Regions from separate parts of the Homo sapiens genome. Here region 1 is linked to region 2. The links are contacts of gene promoters, found by promoter capture Hi-C in blood cells and fetal thymus (Javierre and others, 2016). All regions are on one chromosome and are shown on one strand. Each heading gives the region's core, a stretch centred on a gene start or on the middle of the fragment in contact. The rest is flanking DNA. Distances are from core to core; before and after follow the strand shown. Region 1 overlaps CDC14A (cell division cycle 14A). Region 2 holds the start of AGL (amylo-alpha-1,6-glucosidase and 4-alpha-glucanotransferase).

Region 1 (3,247 bases), core at 522-3,021, 530 kb before region 2:
TATTGACGGCCAAGCACAGTGGCTCATGCCTGTAATCCCACCACTTTGGGAGGCTCAGGCGGGAAGCTAGCTTAAGCCCAGAAGTTCAAGACCAGCCTGATCAACATAGTGTGTCCCTGCCTCTACAAAAACTAAAAAAAAAAAAAAAAAAAAATAGTTAGCTGGGTGGGGTGCAGAAGTGTGCACCTATATTTCCAGTTAGTCAGTTGACTGAAGTGGGAGAATCATCAAAGCCCAGGAGTTTGAGGCTGCAGTGAGCTATGACTGCACCATGGCACTCCAGCCCAGGTGACGCAGTGAGACCCCCTCTCAAAAAAAAAAAAAAAAAAAAAAGAATAGAGGAAGGTATTCAGTTTTTTCAAAATACCACAACTTTGTCTTTTGTTAGTAAAGTCTTCTTTTTCAGAAGACTTTAGCCCAGTGTTCTTAGCATGTCTGTGTCAAGGATCCCTCTGAGAACCTGAAAAAAAGCCATGAATCCTCCCAGAAGAAAAATGTAAATACATACAAAATTGTATAATTTCAAGGGTTTATGGATCCCTTGAATTACCAGAATAATAATTCCAGCTCAAGGCTATCAATCATTGATGACATTTAACATTAAATAACATACACAGTTTAACAAATTGTTCTCACTTCAATGCATCTTCCCTCTTTTGATTGCTTCCCCTATCCTAGGGGAAAGACCAAACAGCAACCTATTACTGCCTAATTCCTAGTACTGACAATTTTTTAAAGTACAGTTTAAATAAGCAGCAGGTTTTTTATTGGTGATGATGCATTTTATGTTTGGATTTTTAATCTAAGCATATGTTTGATGGGATAATTTTCCATTCTGATTGACATAATTAAAATAAGGACATTGGGAATAGAATGCATATAGACACAGAAACACAAAAATAGCGATAAATCACCAACTCAAATCATCAACTGGAAAAAAACATCTTCTCATTTCAAAAATGAGAAATTTGGGATTGGAATAAAATGTACAGCAAAATATTACCTATCTATATAAAGCACAGAATGAGGAAGAAAAATCACACAAGCTTTCTTGGAAGGAATAAAAATTTCCAAACTAAAAAATGAAATGTGCCTAAAAGAACTGGGAAATCACACAAGAGAAGAATCCTAAGACGAAGTTACTAGTTAACACAGTGCGAAATTACTCAGAGAAGTAAAGGAGTTTGAGGATCCAGCAAGTGCCATCAGATTCAGCATTTAAGACGTTATTAGAGCAGTTTCGGTAGAGTAGGGAAGGCAAAAGTTAGATAACAAAGGGTTAAGAAATCAGCACACAGGAAGGATGGAGGCAGGCTCTTCTTCTGAAACCTCTGGAAGCAAAAGGAGAAAGGGGGATCTGCAAATGAAGGGGATCATGACAAAGTCAAAAGAAGTCTCTGTGTGTCTGTTGTCCCTGCACTAGGCACTGAGAACACAAAGATACATGACATCCTCCACCTTCCACCCTCTAGAAGCTCATAGTCTAGTGAGAATGACAGGTGCAAACAGGTAATTACAATTCATCAACGATACAGATCTGCACAGAGAATGATGGGAAAACAAGGGAGGCACCCTCAATCCAGTCCAAAAGGACAAGAAGATGCTTCCTAAAGGGTGGTGGCTGGACAAGGTATTAAAGAATGAAGAGCTATCAAGCCAGAGGGTAAGGGCATCCCAGTCAGACTGGTCTTCATGAGCAAATGCATGGAACAGCTGGTATGGTAGAGTAAAGTGCAAGGCTGGGAGTGGCAAGGGTACTGCTGCTTCCCAGTAAATTAGTGCATGAAATCATCCACTGGGAAAACAACAAGGGTGAGAGCTGGCAAGGCAGAAAGACAAGAAAGCAAAGTACCCAAGACCTTACTGAAGTAAGTGACCATGGGCTGCAGGCAAGAGACATCAGCAGGGTGCCAGTGGACTGAGAGAACAGGGAGACTGAAGGTCTAGCAATCCCAGTAGTGTGAGAGGGACAGAATGTGCAAAGTGAGTAACAAAGGCATTTTCCAAGTGGGAGAATCTGGAGTCTGGGTTCGTGGAAGTGAAGCAGACAGAATGGCCCTAACACTTACTGGAATGAAAGAGGCAGAGGAGCCTCAAAGTCAGCGTGGGACAACAAGGTCAGGTAGCTGGGGCAATGCTAAGAGTGAACAAAGGATGACTGTAAACCAGAGGCTATGGTTCCTACTGAAGGTGGAAAGAAGAACAGGAAAAATGTGGTCAAGAGCCATGAAATCTAGCCCTGACTTTGCCTGCTGCACTGGGCAAGTCACACACCTTTCCCAGGCTTCCCTTTCTGAGTCTTGACTAAATGGTCATTTAGATTCCTAAAATTATATTGGACAGCTTTCCCATATATAAACAATAGCTTTAAGGCTGAGAAACAGGTGTTCATCGATTTTGTAGAAGAACTGTCTTTATTATATTCCCTATCAGAATTCACAAATGTTACATTGGTAACTTTATTATGTATAGGACTTTAAAATGTACAAAGCTTTTACATATTGATATAGTTTGGATATTTGTCCTCTCCAAATCTCACGTGATCCCCAGTGTTAAGAGGTGGGGCCTTGGGTCATGGGGGCAGATCCCTCATGAACGGCTCGGTGCCATTCTGAGGGGATTGAGTGGGTTTTCACTCTTAGTTCCCCCAAGATTTTGTTGTTAAAAAGAGTGTGGCACCTCCCTCCCCTCTCCCTTGCTCCCTCTCTTGCCATATGACATGACTGTTCCCCTTGACCTTCTGCCTTGAGTGAAAGCTTCCTGAGGGACTCACCAGAAGCAGATGTTGGTGCCACGATTCATGTACAGCCTGTGGAACCATGAGCTATATAAAACTCTTTTCTTTATAAATTACCTAGCCTCTGGTATTCCTTTATAGCAATGCAAAACAGACTAAGACATGTTTTCTAATATAATACTAACCACCACCCTGTGACAGTTCTATAATTCCTATTTTACAGATGAAGAAACTAAGATTCCACAAAACTGAAGCAATTCCAACTTTGGACTGGTACAGTAAATCTTTTTCTCCTAATTAGAGATTCTATGTAGTATGCTTCATTGAGACAACTCATGACTTATCAACATTTGGGTTTTTAAAATTCAATCATTCAGCAAGTAATGCAGTGCCCATTAATTGTCCTAAAGCTACATATGTCATTCCAGACAACCAACAGATTACCTTACCACTAAAATGAACCAAGGAGAGTGTTTAAACTTTATTAATAATGTCGAAACACAGCATTAT
Region 2 (3,124 bases), core at 578-3,077:
ACAGTTGAGGCCATGAGACTGTGTAACTAATTCTTTGAAGGAGAACAGAAAAAGAATTCCTAGCAGATACCCATAATTAATTAAAAAGTGAAAGGAAGAGAGCCTAGTAAGAGACACCAAGTTGACAAGAATATGCAACAGGGGAGGGGGAAAAAAAAATCAAAACCAGAAAAGTGCAGAGTCAGGAAAGCCAAAAATGGAGTAGGTACTCAGTGATTTTAAATGCCAAAGTTGGAAAAAGGCGCGGATTTGGCATGAAGATATCACATTGTATGTGTGAAATTTTTTTCAAAAATTTAATTCTTAAAACATTAGCGAAATTTAAAAATTCCTTTGAAATGTTTATGACTAGCAACATCCATTTGGTACATTAATAAGGGGGACTGGATTTTTCATATATTACACTTCTTCAATGTTGAAAAATTACAAAGGCTAAGAAAATAAAACATCTATTAACTAGCCTTGTAGAAAAGTAATTTGATCTTTTAAATACAGATCAACTATATATAGTTCAACATAACCAGATGAGTTATTGCACTTTTTATTTGCTAAGAAAATATTTTCAGCTTTTACCTACTCCACATTTGAGAAGTTTTTGATATACATAAACAATAGTTTACTATACTTTTTGCTGCAATCTATTTTGTCAATTCAAAGGTTCAACAAAGGAAAAGAGACAGTTATACAAAGGCAAAACTACATGCATACCCAAAGCAAAATTACATATGAAGTAATTTACCAAGTTTTAATAGTAAATGTTATTAGAAATAATATGGGCAATCTTCTGATCATATATTTAACTTCAATCTTAAGTGGGAATTAGTACGCAGAGAAAAGAGAACTATTTTATCCTTATCCTAACACGAGGGATATAAAATATTTTTAATTCAAATCAACATTAATTAGTGATATATGGAGAACACAGCACCATCTTTGCACAAATCAAGTTTTAGACCCTTGGAAATAATATTTATCTTAGAGCTTTAAAACATTTAACAGGACTGCCAATGAATTAAAAGTTTAAAAGACGCAAATGAGCAAATCAAAACAACTTGCTACTGACCTTGTTCAAGTCTGAAGAGGGTCTTTTCCAGTTTCTCCATTTCGTTCAGAAGTAAAATTCGAATCTGTTTACTGTGTCCCATTTTGGCTTCTAGAGGATTTGAAATCTTTCATAAGAATTAAAAGAACTCCACAGTCGAATGAGTTACCCCTATGAAACAAAAAGGAGTTAAAATATCGAAAATAACTATTGCCTTAAACTCTCCAGAGCTGACAGCGGCACTTACATGTTCGAAGTGTGTTTTATGCCTAGCAGAGCAATGAAAGAGAATGAATCTTATAACTATTAAGATTCGAGAAGGCAAATTAATAGTTGTTTCCTGCCTTTGAGCACAACGAATAAGACCGAAATAAAAATGCTGTATTACAGATTCTTACAATTAAAAAATTAAAAACCTAGACCATTCTCAGAGAAAAGCAATACACTTAGGAAAGCCTGAAGTCAGGGGGACATTCCCAGCCCCAAGCCACAGGGCTCTGGAGACTCCGAATGGCACTTCTGCTTACAAGAGATTAGTCTGCTCAAAGATAACAGGTGGGCAATCTCCCCATTCCCAAATTCGGGTCGCCAGCCACCAATGGGGAGATGAGAACAGAGGGAAGCAGTTGTTGCCTCTGGAATAGCTGCCGTAGACAGAAGATGTACAGAGCGAGCTATAGATAGAAAGAATGCGTTTCCCCGCGAGGCCAGCGGCATTCCTAGCACTTACGCCGAGGGAGTTATACGTGCGGCTTCTGGGGCACTGCAGGACCCGCGACTCTGGTGCTACGGTCGGGGGGAGGGGACGGGGAGAAACAGAAGGGGAAGGGCTGGCTGCCCAGCCTCGCACAGAAGCCGCAGCCCAAGGAGGGCCGGGCGCCGTGAAGGGCAAAGGGAGGGGCGGCGAGCGACCGGGGCAGCGCCGAGGCAGCTGGGTGAGAAGCAGGCAGAGTCTCAGCGACTTCGCCTCGCGCGGGTTCCTGGGCGCACCCGGTACCCAACCTGGCCGTGCGCGCACTCGCCCCAGGTGGGAGCGGACCGTACCTCTGGCCCACTTCCGGGAGGCTCGACCCGCCCGCCCCGACCGCTAGTCTCGCGAGAGCGTGGGCACCGCACCGTCTCAGTCGGCTCCGGGCCGGGGGACCTGGAGCCTGCTGCGGCTGAGGCCGGGAGCGGCGCTTTCTCCTTGCCCTGGGGAAGGTGCACCGGCCAAGGCGCGGCCTTCCTTTAACAGCCTGCGAGCTCACAGTTGCACATTAAAATCCCGCGGTACCGGCTGCGAGCTAGGTTGAGCTGCACAGTAGGATCTTTTGCTGGGAAGGGCTGAATGGTGAGGGGCAAACGACCTGGCTTCTGGTGTCTTTTGTGCCACCACGTGTTTTGTTTCTTTGTTTTGATAATTTTTACTTGGCCTAAGTTCTCAGAGTCCTGATTTCTAAGTGTCTAAAATAAGGGGCCTGGCTACAGCCTTGACATTCCAGCCAACACGTGTCCATCACTTCTAGTGCTAACAGACAGGACACATGTTCCTGAATGCAGACCCAGTAGGTAAGGTGTGGCCAGTCTGCAAACCATCGAGAGTGCAAACACCACTGATACTTAACGGTGTCCGGGTGTACCTCATGTACACTAGATAGACCCGGAGATCGTCTGAGATTAAGCTGCACTTATGTTAGGCCAGTAACTCAGAACTTTTTGCAGATGCTTAAGGAGATTTAATGCCTGAGGGTAAAGGAAAACCCATCTTCCAGGGCTTTTGGAGGGCTCCTAATGGTTATGAGAAAATGGACAGAAGATTTGGTTAACTAAGACTTGTGGCGTGTGGAGAAGATTCTTGCATTCTTTATTGTGGAATGACTGTAGGTCCAAAGAGGATATAAGTTAAAAAAAAAAACCCCATACTGAAGTATTTGTTTATTTCTGTAGATTTCTGAGAATGGCTAGTTGCAAATGGTCCGTAACTGACTTTGGGAACCCACAGCTCATTTTCTGGCCCCTACTATTTGCCAGGCACATAAGGTGCTGGGAATGCAGCAATAAAACAGTCACTGCCCTCAAGGAACTCCTACATTTTATTGGTGG

What was found. The method cuts DNA at HindIII sites, captures the fragments that hold promoters and counts their contacts. A CHiCAGO score of 5 or more calls a contact.
Region 1: a contact is called between a fragment that was not itself captured here and the fragment with the promoter of AGL in region 2, in 1 of 17 cell types (fetal thymus). The highest score is 5.2, in fetal thymus.

Annotation. Positions count from the first base shown.
Region 1 is chr1:100,379,298-100,382,544 of GRCh38, reverse strand. All of the region lies in intron 3 of CDC14A (cell division cycle 14A), which reads right to left. Among named protein-coding and RNA genes, the nearest start is that of CDC14A, 28 kb to the right of the region's middle. The HindIII fragment of the contact is 1,445 bases long and covers 1,049-2,493 here.
Region 2 is chr1:99,849,064-99,852,187 of GRCh38, reverse strand. AGL (amylo-alpha-1,6-glucosidase and 4-alpha-glucanotransferase) reads right to left here and starts at 1,827. Exons shown (of 34, transcript NM_000642.3): 1 at 1,773-1,827; 2 at 1,064-1,213. The coding sequence starts at 1,145. RefSeq lists enhancers at 733-1,706, 2,357-2,506, 1,707-2,681 and a silencer at 1,857-2,176. The HindIII fragment of the contact is 4,640 bases long and covers 1-3,124 here.